Regions from separate parts of the Homo sapiens genome. Here region 1 is linked to region 2. The links are contacts of gene promoters, found by promoter capture Hi-C in human tissues and cell types (Jung and others, 2019). All regions are on one chromosome and are shown on one strand. Each heading gives the region's core, a stretch centred on a gene start or on the middle of the fragment in contact. The rest is flanking DNA. Distances are from core to core; before and after follow the strand shown. Region 1 has its middle 19 kb from the start of LINC00221. Region 2 holds the start of BRF1 (BRF1 general transcription factor IIIB subunit).

What was found. Contacts are between HindIII fragments. The study calls those that stand out against the background at their distance.
Region 1: a contact is called between a fragment that was not itself captured here and the fragment with the promoter of BRF1 in region 2, in 1 of the 25 tissues and cell types used here (lymphoblastoid cells).

The regions. Positions count from the first base shown.
Region 1 is chr14:106,460,856-106,466,800 of GRCh38, forward strand. It overlaps IGH, the pseudogene HOMER2P1 and the pseudogene IGHV3-42. Among named protein-coding and RNA genes, the nearest start is that of LINC00221, 19 kb to the right of the region's middle. The HindIII fragment of the contact is 3,007 bases long and covers 2,951-5,945 here.
Region 2 is chr14:105,299,043-105,305,479 of GRCh38, forward strand. BRF1 (BRF1 general transcription factor IIIB subunit) reads right to left here and starts at 1,959. Exons shown (of 18, transcript NM_001519.4): 1 at 1,404-1,959. The coding sequence starts at 1,587. It also overlaps the pseudogene LOC124903409 and a transcript of PACS2 not described here. RefSeq lists an enhancer at 701-780 and silencers at 1,631-2,040, 2,271-2,640. The HindIII fragment of the contact is 16,575 bases long and covers 1-6,437 here.

The DNA.
Region 1 (5,945 bases), core at 3,204-5,703, 1.2 Mb after region 2:
GAAGGTCATATTCGGTGTGATTGTGCTGTTTATGGTCACCTTGGCTCCGTCCACACTGACGATCCCATAGATGTTCCTTGTGACATCATAGAAGTAAGAAACGGTGACCGCCTGTTGCTCGCAGGCATCCAGTGCTTTTTGGTGTTGGGGTCAATCTGGAAGACCTGTGCTCCGGTGGTGAAGATGGGCTGTTCTTCCATCCCCGGCACTGCTCCGGCGGCCACTCCGACCCGGCCTCTCACGCTCACTGTCCGCCCGCTTGGCGTCTGCTACCGGCGCGGCACGTGCGGAGGCCCCTGCGCGCCTGGCTCAGCCCAGGCGCCGCTCCATTCCACCAGGCGCGGGCAGGCAGGGGCTCTCGAAAAATCATTCTAAGAGATAAATTAAAAGAGTAATCTGTAATAAGGGGAATAATCTGTAATAAGCATTCCAACTCAGAAAAAAACTGAATATATGTAATACATATAAACTCCTGAGAAGAAAGGTCGAAGCACAAGAAGGGTCTCATGTGTAGCAGGTTGTAATATGTTTATTGTTAAAATTATTACCTTCATTTTTTTTTTTTAAAAAAAGCAAAGCATAATGAAATTAAGTTTTTGTGCTTATCTGGTACAACAGCCTGTTGAGAAAAATGAAGAGCCCTGTAATCCTGAGGAGGGGGCTTAATCCAAAGAGAGATGCTCCAGGTCCTGTGCACATGAAAGATTTGCCTGCTTCTGCCCATCCAGGAGCTTACTTCCTGAAGCCTTTGAAGCCTTCAGGAGGCAGGAGGCTGAATGAGTTTCTCAGGACAATCTAATCATATCCTGACAGGGAGAAAAAAATCATGACCTAGGACGGATTAAAAAATGTATAATTAAAATTTCATTGAAAATTGAGAAATTTTGACTATGTATTTATAGAGTGCAAAGCTATGTTATGATTTATGAATGCAATATGGAATAACTGAATCTAGCTAATTGACATATATATCAACTCAAATCCTCAAATCCTTATTGTGTGTGTTTGTGTGACAGGGACATTTGAAATTTGTTCTTGGCCATTTTAAAATGACCAATACACTATATTTAAGCTTACAAATAGATACCAATTTATGTAAACTATAGAGAATCATTGCAATGAATAATGGATTACTATAATTTATATTTAGTTAATCATTAAGTTTCATTCATTAGGACATATTTTATAATGATTTTATTATATTAAATATAAAAGACTAGACATGTATGCATAAGTTTGTGTATTTACACATATGTCTACAGATGTAAATTAATGTCGCCATAGCTATGTAGTTGAAGATATCAACAGATGTTAATACAACCTAGGAGAATAAGTGCATATTATTAGGAAGAATTATTTTTGAAGGATTTTTTTTATTCTTTAAGTTTTAGGGTACAGAGAAATGCAAATCAAAACCACAATGAGATACCATCTCACACCAGTTAGAATGGCAATCATTAAAAGGTCAGGAAACAACAGGTGCTGGAGAGGATGTGGAGAAATAGGGAACACTTTTACACTGTTGGTGGGACTATAAACTAGTTCAACCATTGTGGAAGTCAGTGTGGCGATTCCACAGGGATCTTGAACTAGAAATAACCATTTGACCCAGCAATCCCATTACTGGGTATATACCCAAAGGATTATAAATCATGCTGCTATAAAGACACATGCACACATATGTTTATTGTGGCACTATTCACAATAGCAAAAACTTGGAACCAACCCAAATGTCCAACAATGATAGACTGGACTAAGAAAATGTGGCACATATACACCATGGAATACTATGCAGCCATAAAAAATGATAAGTTCATGTCCTTTGTAGGGACATGGATGAAGCTGGAAACCATCATTCTCAGCAAACTATTGCAATCACAAAAAACTAAACACCGCATGCTCTCACTCATAGGTGGGAATTGAACAATGAGAACACATGGACACAGGAAGGGGAACACACACCGGGGCCTGTTGTGAGGTGGGGGGAGGGGGGAGGGATAGCATTAGGAGATATACCTAATGTTAAGTGACGAGTTAATGGGTGCAGCACACCAACATGGCACATGTATACATATGTAACAAACCTGCACGTTGTGCACATGTACCCTAAAACTTAATTTTTAAAAATACCCCTACATATAAATTTAAAAATTACTAAAACACAAATCCCAATTTTAAAAAATCATGATAAATAACCATAGTAAAATATCAAAACCTCATAAGACTCCATATTCCTGCAAAAACAAACCCGCCTCCTGCAGCTGAGAAAGGAAACCTCCCCCTGCACCCGCCCCTGGGACCTGTCCCATCCTCAGTGGGTCCCGAGCGCCCCCAGTTGGCCCTGCGCGCCCCTGCAGGGAGATTTGTGTATGGGCCTACGTTAACCTCCCCCTCACTGTCTCTAGTACAGTAATAGATGGCCGTGTACTCGGTTTTCAGGGTATTCACTTGCAGATACAGTGTGTTCTTTGAATCATCTCTTGAGATGGTGAACCTGCCTTTCACAGATGCAGCGCATTCTGTCGTGTAACTGTTACGTTTGGTTCTAATACGGCCAACCCACTCCAGCCCTTTCCCAGAAGCCTGGCGGATCCAGTGCATTCAGAAGTCACTGAAGGTGAATCTAGAAGCTGCAAATGAGAGTCTCGGGGACCCACCCAGGCTGTACCAAGCCTCCCCCAGACTCCACCAGCTGCGCCTCACGCTGGACGCCTGCAAACACAGAGACACCCTGGTCAGAAACGGCCACACATATCTACTGTTTCTCTCACTCATGTCCACTCGCACTCAACATCTCTCATTCTCCATAAATCACCTTCAAACTCCGAAACAACATTATACTGAATAGGAATATGTTGAAAGTATTCCTCCTAAGACTCAGAACACGTCAAGGATGCCCACTTTCACCACTCTTAATCAATATGGAACTTGAAATCCTAGCCAGAGAAATTAGGCAAGAGAAAGAAATAAAGGCACTCAAATTGGAAAAGAGGAAGTCAAACTCTTTGTGTTTGCTGATAATATGATTTTGTACTTAAAAAAACTAATATTCTTTCAAAATACTCCTAGAATTGATGAGTTAATTCAGTAAAGTTTTAGAATAAATGAAAAAAGCATACAAAAACCAGTAGCATTATTATACACAAGTAACAATCAAGTAACAATCTAGCAGAAAGCCATAGATGAGTGGAACAGAATAGACATTTCATAAATAAAGTCAAATGCCTGCAGCCAAACTGACTGTGAAAAACTAGACAAGAAGCATACACTGGGAACAGGTCACCTTGTTATATAAATTGTGCAGGAAAAACTGAACAGCCATTTGCAGCAGAATAAAACTGGACCCGTATCTCTCACTATATCCAAAATTAAGCCAATATGGATAAAAGACTTAACTGGGAGACCTGAGAGTCTGAAAGTTGCAGATGCTATTCTAGGAAATATTGTTCTGGAGATTGTCCTAGGCAAAGAATTCATGACTACAACCTTAAAAGTAAACAATAAAAACCGAAATAGACCATTTGGACTTAATACAAATAAGAAGCAAAGCATCTGAACAGCAAAACAAATAATCAAAAAACTTAACCGAAAGCGTACAGAATGGGATAAACTATTTTTAAACTCTGTATCTGACAAAGAGCTAATATTTACAAACTACAAGAAACAAAAGCAACACAAAAACCCACAAATAACCACATTAAAAATGAGCAAATTACTACAATGTTTATTTTTCAAAAGACAAAAAAATCATCAACCAGCATATGAAAAAATAATCAATGACATTAATCATCAGAAAAATGCAATTTAAAGACACAGTGAGATACCATCTTATACCAGTCAGAAAAGCTACTATTAAAACAGTCAAAAAGAAAAATGGAACAAAACAAAAAACAGATGCTAGTAAGGATGCAGAGAAGCAGGAGTGCTTATACACTGCTAGTGGAAATGTAAATTACTATAAGCTCTATGGAAAACAGTATGGAGATTTTGCAAATAATTAATATTGGAACTAATATTTCATTCAGCAGTCCCACTACTGGGTATCTACCCAAGGGAAGATAAATTATTATATCAGATAGATGCCTGCATTTATATGTTTATTGCTGCTCTATTCACAATAGCAAATACATGGTACCAAACTAAGTTTCTATTAGTAAATGATTAGATAAAGGAAACAGTCGTATATGTTCATACATATACATATATGTACACACACATCCCCACACATACACACACTATACATGTGTATGTACATATACACATTTAATTACTACTCAATAATAGACAAGGAATGAAATTATGTATTTTCCAGTAGCATGGATGAAACTGTAGGCCACTATCTTAAGTTAAAGAACTCAGAAGAATAAAGTTGAATACCACATGTCATATATAAGTGAGAGCTAAATAATATGTACACATGGATACAGAGTGTGGAATAAGAAATATTGGAGACTTGGAAGGTTGGGAGGGTGGGAGTGGCATGTGGGATGAGAAGTTACTTAATGGGTACAATATACACCATCCAGATGATGGCTATACTCAAAGCCCAGATTTTATCCCTCAACAATATATCCATGTAACAAAACGGCACTTTCACCCCATAAATTTATACAAATAAAAGGATAAGTGATACATATCCCAATTATCACAAACCCACTCCAGAATGTCTTATACATACACACACAGCATTACCACTACTTTATTGTAGTGTTCCATTTTTTTCACTTAAAAGAGAAAGGCAATCTCCATTGTCAGGGTAAATACACTTTGGAGAAGCTGTTATCCAGTAGGCCAGGGCAGTGCAGCTCTCCCATCAGCAACCACAAAGCTTTGTGTTTGGGTCATGTACATTCATCTACTATTGTTCTGTAGTAGTCTCTGGGCACAACATTGGCCCACACATTCTCCTCCATTCTAAGGGACTCAAAACAGAATCCACTTTTACACTAGTCATTCTCCAAATCCAGATTAACAAAAATTAGTAAAGAAGCAAAAGATAAAACTCAAAAAGAGAGAACCCATCTCACTATCCTCCCATATTTCAGTCGTTTCATGCCTTACCCTCCCTATTTCACCACCTGAGCCCCCTTCTGGGTGGGTAGAGTTTGTGAAGCTTTTATCTTTTATCACAGTGTAATTGCTAACTCTAGTGGTCATGAGCCCATCAGCCCTAAATGAAAATGGTCAAAATCTGAGGTTGGTGCAGTATCCCTCTCCCTGCCAACTCTCTCCTGGATTTTCACTTAGTTCTCACAGATGGAAATTGCATATGTAGGCTATTTCTAATCATTTCACATTTCATTATGTATTGATTGAGCCAGCTCCTTGGGAGTTGGATTTATAATTTCTAAATCCCATTTACCTCCAGAAACCGATTTCAGCTCAGCTGCTGTAATAGACTGTAGTATTCTGTCACTCCCCAGGTATCAAATTTTGCCATTCCATACCTGAACACTTACGTTTTCCATGCAATGCTTCAGCCATGTATCATCATTGAGTCAGGGTCTCTCTAGGAAATCCTTCTTCTAACACAACTGTGTTGAGAGTTCTCATCTGCCACCTGTAGGCTGAAAAATCAGTAAAAACATAGGACTCATAACTGTTCTATTCACAGGAACAGTTTATTACAGAAAAATGATACAATTTAAAATAAGTAAAGACAAAAGGCACAAGGAGTGAAGCCCTGGAGAATCCAGGCACAAGCTCTCAGGTGTCCTCTCACAGTGGAGCCTTCTACACATGTGTAATTGTTCAGCTGTGAGGTAAGATGGCTTGTGTGAAGTGTTGACAACAAGGGGAGTGCCGCTGAGCTCTCTTGTCCAGGGCTGTGTTTGGGGAATGAATCATAGACTATGGAACACCTGGGGAACTGACCACAATACTCAGACGACAGCCCTCTCCAGCAAAACAAAAGTAGACATTCACTATAAATCACTGATTAAACT
Region 2 (6,437 bases), core at 709-3,208:
GGCTCCTGTAGTCCCAGCTACTCGGGAGGCTGAGGCAGGAGAATGGCGTGAGCCTGGGAGGCAGAGCTTGCAGTGAGCCGAGATCGAGCCACTGCACTCCAGCCTGGGCAACAGAGCAAGACTCCATCTCAAAAGAAAAAAAACTTCTGCTTTGAAAATCACATATACAACAAAGGGCTTGTAACTACAATCCACAAAGAACTCCCAAAACTCAACAATAAGAAAACAACCCAAATAAAAAATGAGAGTCAGGGTGTGGTGGCTCACGCTGTAATCCCAGCAATTCGGGAGGCCAAGGCTGGAGTATCACTTGAGCCCAGGAGTTTGAGACCAGCCTGGGCAACATAGAGACCTTGTCTCTACTAAAAATAAAATAAAATAAATGATCACAGCATGGTGGCATGCACCTGTAGTCTCAGCTACTCAGGAGGTTGAGGCAGGAGAATTGCCTGAGCCTAGGAGTTCAAGGCTGCAGAGAGCCATGACTGGGCCATTGCACACCAGCCTGGGCCACAGAGTGAGATCCTGTCTCGAGATAAATAAAAAAATAAGACTTGAGCACACATTTCAACAAAGAGGATTCGGGCATGGCAAATAAGCACCCTAATAAGGTTGAACATCACTAGCCAGTAGAGAAATACAGAATACCACTATGATGAGATGCCACACACCTGTTAGAACAACCGAAATAAAAACATCGACAACACCAAGTGCTGGTGAAGATGTGGGGCAACTGGTGAGAATGCATAATGGCACAGCCACATCACAAAACAGTTCATGACAGTTTCCCATAGAGTTACACATACAGCTAAGTTCCCCAGAGAAATGAAAACGTATGTTCACACAGAGAGCTGCAAATGAATCCTTTTAGCAGCTCTATTCACAACCACCTGAAACTGGCCACAGTCCAGCTCCTTCCACAGGCTGGGGTCCATCCCCAGCCCGCAATACTGCCCATCACTGAAACGTCCCCTCCGAGGCCTGCAGCAGCCTGAGTGGCCCTAGGGCATCCGCCCGGTAACCACCAAGGCCAAGGGCAGCAGCAATCGGATTCTAAGTACCAGACATTGCTGAAAACAAAACTGCAGGCACAGAGAGTGACAGTGAGGGGCAGCTTGAGGGGCCTTCTGGGCTCCCCAGGCTCTCTTCAACCCTCCCTGTGCTGGCTGCCCTGGCCCACGCGTGTGTCGAGGAAGTCCACGCACGCCACGGGGGTCCACAGGCGCGCGAAGAAGGTCTACATTCTCGCCAAGGGGATCCACACTCGCGCCCAGACGGCGCAGAACCGCGCGCCCCGACAGAGCGTGCGGTACCGAGGCGCTGGTCCCGGCCGCGCCGTCACCGCCTCCAGCCCGCCTAAGCCGCACCGAGAAATCCGCGCAGCGCCAGCCCGCGGGACTCACCGTCCAGGGACACGAACTGGCCCACGGCCGAGGAGCCGCCGCCGCTGCTCTCCACGAACTGCACCTCGGACACGATGATGTTGTCCTCCAGCACTGAGCCGCAGGCGGTGCACACCGCGTCCCCGCGCGCCGCGTCCAGCTCGATGTCCGTGCCGCCGCAACCGCGGCACACGCGGCCCGTCATGCCGGCGACCGCGCGGGCAGCGCCCGGAGCCTCCCAAGACTCTCAAGCCACCCGAGCCTCCGGAGCAGCCCGCGCCGCCCGCCCAGGCCCAGCCGCCCAGGCCTCGCCGCTCTCGCGAGGCCCCGCTCCAGCCGATTCGCAGCCGCAGATTCGCCGCGCGCGCCCGGGCCGCGCCGCCCGCAACGGCCGCGCCCGCGGGATGGGACAGGCACCGGGACCACGGCGGGGACGCGAGGACTGGAGCCGCGACCTCCCCACTGCGAGCGAGCTGGCCTCCCTTGCGGCGCGCCGGCGTCGGAGGGGCGACCTGCGGGGGCTGGGCTTCGGCGGAACCCGAGCGGGGCCTACCGGTGAGCGCAGCCGAGGACTGGCGCTTGGGGGCGGGGCCACGGCGGTGAGCGCAGCCCGGGACTGGAGTTTGGGGCGGGGCCTCGTCGGTGGGCGACACCGGGGACTAGAGCTAAGGGTGGGGCCTCGCGGTGAGTGCAGCCGGGGACGGGACCCAAGGCTGGCGACGGGACCCAAGGCTGGCGACGCGACCTAAGGCAGTGGGCGGGCCCTTGGCGATGAACGCAGTCGGGGACTAAAGCTGGACGCGGGGCAGAGGAGGGTCCTCCTCGGATAGTGAGCGCGGTCTCCAGCGGCGAGCGAGGCCTGGGGTGAGGACTCAGCCGGATGCGGGGCTGAGGGTGGGGGGCGGGGCCTCCCGTGGAGAGACGGCCTGCGAAGGGAACTGGAGCTGTGGGCGGGGGAAGGGGGCGGAGCCTGGGTCTGGACCCGAACTGTGGGCGGGGCTTGAGGCGAGGGGGCCGAGCGTGGTGGGCGGGGCCTTGGCTCCTGAGGGCGACCTGGGACCCAACCCCGGGCTCTGGGAGTGGTGGGCGGGGCCAGGGCAGCTGCGCTGGGGGGCCTGGCCGCAGAGGTGGAGACACCCGCCAGGGGCCACCCTGCCCCGCCCTCCGCATTTGCGGCGTCCGCCGCTCCGCTCGCCCAGGTTCCAGAGCCTCCCCGTGCGCCCCGCTATTCTCCGTTTTCTGTTCCCCTAAAATTCCCACTTTCTAGCAGTCATTCGTGGCCACCTGTGGTTACCCGTGAGTCACCTCGCTGTGCCCCCTGCCCAGAGCGGGAACCCTGGCTGCGCACGCCCTCAAATATCTGCAGGTGCTGTTCACAATCGCCATAGGGCCGGTGACATACCCAGGAATGAGCCTAAAAAGAAATGCGTAACCAGGCGTAGTGGCTCACGCTTGTAATCCCAGCACTTTGGGAGGCCAAGGCAGGCGGATCACGTAAGGTGAGGAGTTCGAGACCAGCCTGGCCAACATGGCGAAACCCCGTCTCCACTAAAAATACAAAAAAATTAGCCAGGCTTGGTGGTGGGCGCCTGTAATCCCAGCTACTCGCGAGTCTGAGACAGGAGAACCACTTGAACCTGAGAGGTGGAGGTTGCAGTGAGCTGAGATCCCGCCATTGCACTCCAGCCTGGGTGACGGGTGACAAGAGTGAAACTCTGTCTCAAAAAAAAAAAAGAGAAAAAAGGAAATGCGGAAGACCCCACCCTCTTTTTTTTCTTTCTTTTTTTTTTTTTTTTGAGACGGAGTCTCTGCTCTGTTGCCCAGGCTGGAGTGCAGTGGTGAGATATCGGCTCACTGCAACCTCTGCCTCCTGGGTTTAAGCGATTCTCCTCTCTCAGCCTCCCGAGTAGCTGGGATTACAGGTATGCACCACCACACCTGGCTAATTTTGTATTTTTAGTAGAGACGGGGTTTCTCCATGTTGGTCAGGCCAGTCTTGAACTCCCGACCTCAGGTGATCCGCCCACTTCAGCCTCCCAAAGTGCTGGGATTACAGGCATGAGCCACCGTGCATGGCCCTATTTCATTAATTTCTGCTCTCATTTTTGTTAGATCCTTCTTTCCACTTAATTTGGTTCAATGTGTTCCCTTTTTCTAGTTTCTTCATTTTTTAAAAATTGAGATAGTGTCTCATTCTGTCACCCAAGGTGGAGTGCAGTAGCATAATCAAGCCTCACTGCAGACTCTACCTCCTGGGCTCAGGTGATCCTCCCACCTCAGCCTCCCGAGTAGCTGGAACTACAGGCATGTGCCACCACACCCAGATAATATTTTTTGTAGAGATGGGTTTTTGCCTCATTTGCCCAGGCTGGTCTGGAACTCCTGGGCTCAAGTGAGCCACCCGCCTTGTCTTCCCAAAGTGCTGGGATTACAGGCATGAGCCACTGCTCCCCGCCCTGTCCTCCCAAAGTGCTGGGATTACAGGCATGAGCCACTGCTCCCCGCCCTTTCTCTAGTTCTTTTTTTTTTTTGAGATAGAGAACACCCAGGCTGGAGTTCAGTGGTGCCATCTCAGCTCACTGCAACTTCCACCTCCCAGGTTCAAGTGATTCTGTCACTTCAGCCTCCCAAGTAGCTGGAATTACAGGCATGTGCCACCACGCCCAGCTAATTTTTGTATTTTTAGTAGAGATGGGGTTTCACCATGTTGGCTAGGCTGGTCCCAAACTCCTGACCTCAAGTGATCCACCTGTCTTGGTCTCCCAAAGTGTTGAGATTCTACACGTGAGCCAATGCACCCGGCCCCTTTTTCTAGTTTTTGTTTTGTTTTGTTTTTTGAGGTGGAGTCTCGCTCTGTCACCCAGGCTGGAATGCAGTGGTGCGATCTTGGCTCACTGTAACCTCCACCTCCCGGGTTCATGCCATTCTCCTGCCTCAGCCTCCCAAGTAGCTGGGACTACAGGTGCCCACCACCATGCCTGGCTAATTTTTTGTATTTTTAGTAGAGACAGGGTTTCACTGTGTTAGCCAGGATGGTCTTGATCTCCTGACCTCGTGATCCACCTGTCTCGCCCTCCCAAAGTGCTGGGACTATGGGCGTGAGCCATCGCGCCTGGCCTTTTCCTAGTTTTTTAAGGTGAAAGATGAAATCATTGATTTAAGATCTCTTTTCCTTTATAAATAGGCATTTTATTGCTATAATTCTCCCTGTAATTACCACTTTAGCTGAATCCTGCACATTTCAATGTGCTGTGTTTTCATTTTCATTCAGCTCAAGATTGTCTCCACTCTTAATTTCCTCCCGGATCCAAGGGTTATTAGGAAGTGTATTGTTTTGTTTCTAAATGTTGGGGATTTTTCAAATATGTATTATTGATCTCTATGCAAAATGCTCTCTGTCCATGATGACATTTCATCCTTATGGCAACACTAGCTTGCAGACACTGTTGTCTCCATTTTATGGAGGGAGCCCTTGAGGATGTGAGGGGTGACAGCCCCAAATCTCATAGCCAGTAGGTAACAAAGCCAGAATCCAATCTGAGGCCATGTGGCCACTGGATCCTTGCTCTCACCTGACAGACTAGAGGGGTTATTTCGTGTGCTCCCTCACCAAAGCCTGTGAGGTGCCTGCAGGTGCAAGGGGCAGCATGCCTCCCAGGCCACAGCGGTGCAGGACAGTCAGGCAGTACAGGACAGTCAGGCTGTACAGGACAGGATTGGCCAGAGGAGCAGAGGGTGGGGAAGACCACACCCACAACGGTAAGAGGTTTAAAGGGTGTGGTTTCAGCCAGGCTCGGTGGCTCAGGACTGTAATCCCAGCACTTTGGGAGGCTGAGGAGGGCAGATCACGAGGTCAAGAGATCAAGACCGTCCTGGCCAACATGGTGAAACCCATCTTTCCAAAAAATACAAAAATTAGCAGGTGTGATGGTGGGCGCCTGTAGTTCCAGCTACTCGGGAGGCTGAGGCAGGAGAATTGCTTGAACCTGGGAGGCGGGAGTTGTGGTGAGGCGAGATGGCGTCATTGCACTTCAGCCTGGACGACAAGAGTGAAACTCCATCTCACAATAAATAAAATAAAATAAAATAAAATATAAAAAAGGGTGAGGCTCTACTGGGCAATGGCCCAAGGTGCGTGCTGCCAGAACTAAGCCTTTGCTCAGATGGGCTGCAGAGGAGGGGTGCTATGGTCTGAATGTGCATTGTATCAGTCTGTTTTCACACTGCTGATAAAGACATACGTGAGACTGGGCGATTAACAAACAAAAGAGGTTTATTGGACCTGTAGTTCCACGTGGCTGCAGAGGCCTCACAATCATGGAGGAAGGCAAGGAGGAGCAAGTCACGTCTTACGTGGATGGCAGCAGGGAGAGAGAGAGCTTCTGCAGGGAAACTCCCTCTTATAAAACCGTCAGATCTCGTGAGACTTATTCGCAATCACAAGAACAGCACGGGAAAGACCTGCCCCCATGATTCAATTCCCTCCCACCAGGTCCCTCCACAATATGTGGGAATTCAAGATGAGATCTGGGTGGGTACACAGAGCCAAATCATATCATGTGTGTTCCCCCAAAGTCCATATGTTGACGTCCTTGCCCCAAGGCGATGGTTTTAGAGAGGTGGGGCCTTTGGGAGATGAGGTCATGAGGGCTGCTTCCCTCATGAGCGGGATTAATGCCCTCAGAAAAGTGGCTGGCTGGGCACAGTGGCTCACATCTGTGATCTCAGCACTTTGGGAGGCTGAGGAGGGAGGATTGCTTGAGTCCAGGAGTTTGAGACCAGCCTAAGCAACATGGCAAAACCCTGACTCTACAAAAACTACAAAAACTTAGCCGGTTGTGGTAGCATGTGTCTGTAGTCCCAGCTACTTGGGAGGCTGAGGTAGGAGGATTGCTTGAGCCCAGAAAGTTGAGGCTGCAGTGAGCTGAGATCACACCACTCCACTCCAGCCTGGGCGACAGATTGAGAACCTGTCTCAAAGAAAAAAGAAACAAGAAAAAAGAAAAAACGTGGCTGGAGGGAGCTTGTCTGCTGCTTCCCCCATGTGAGGATGCA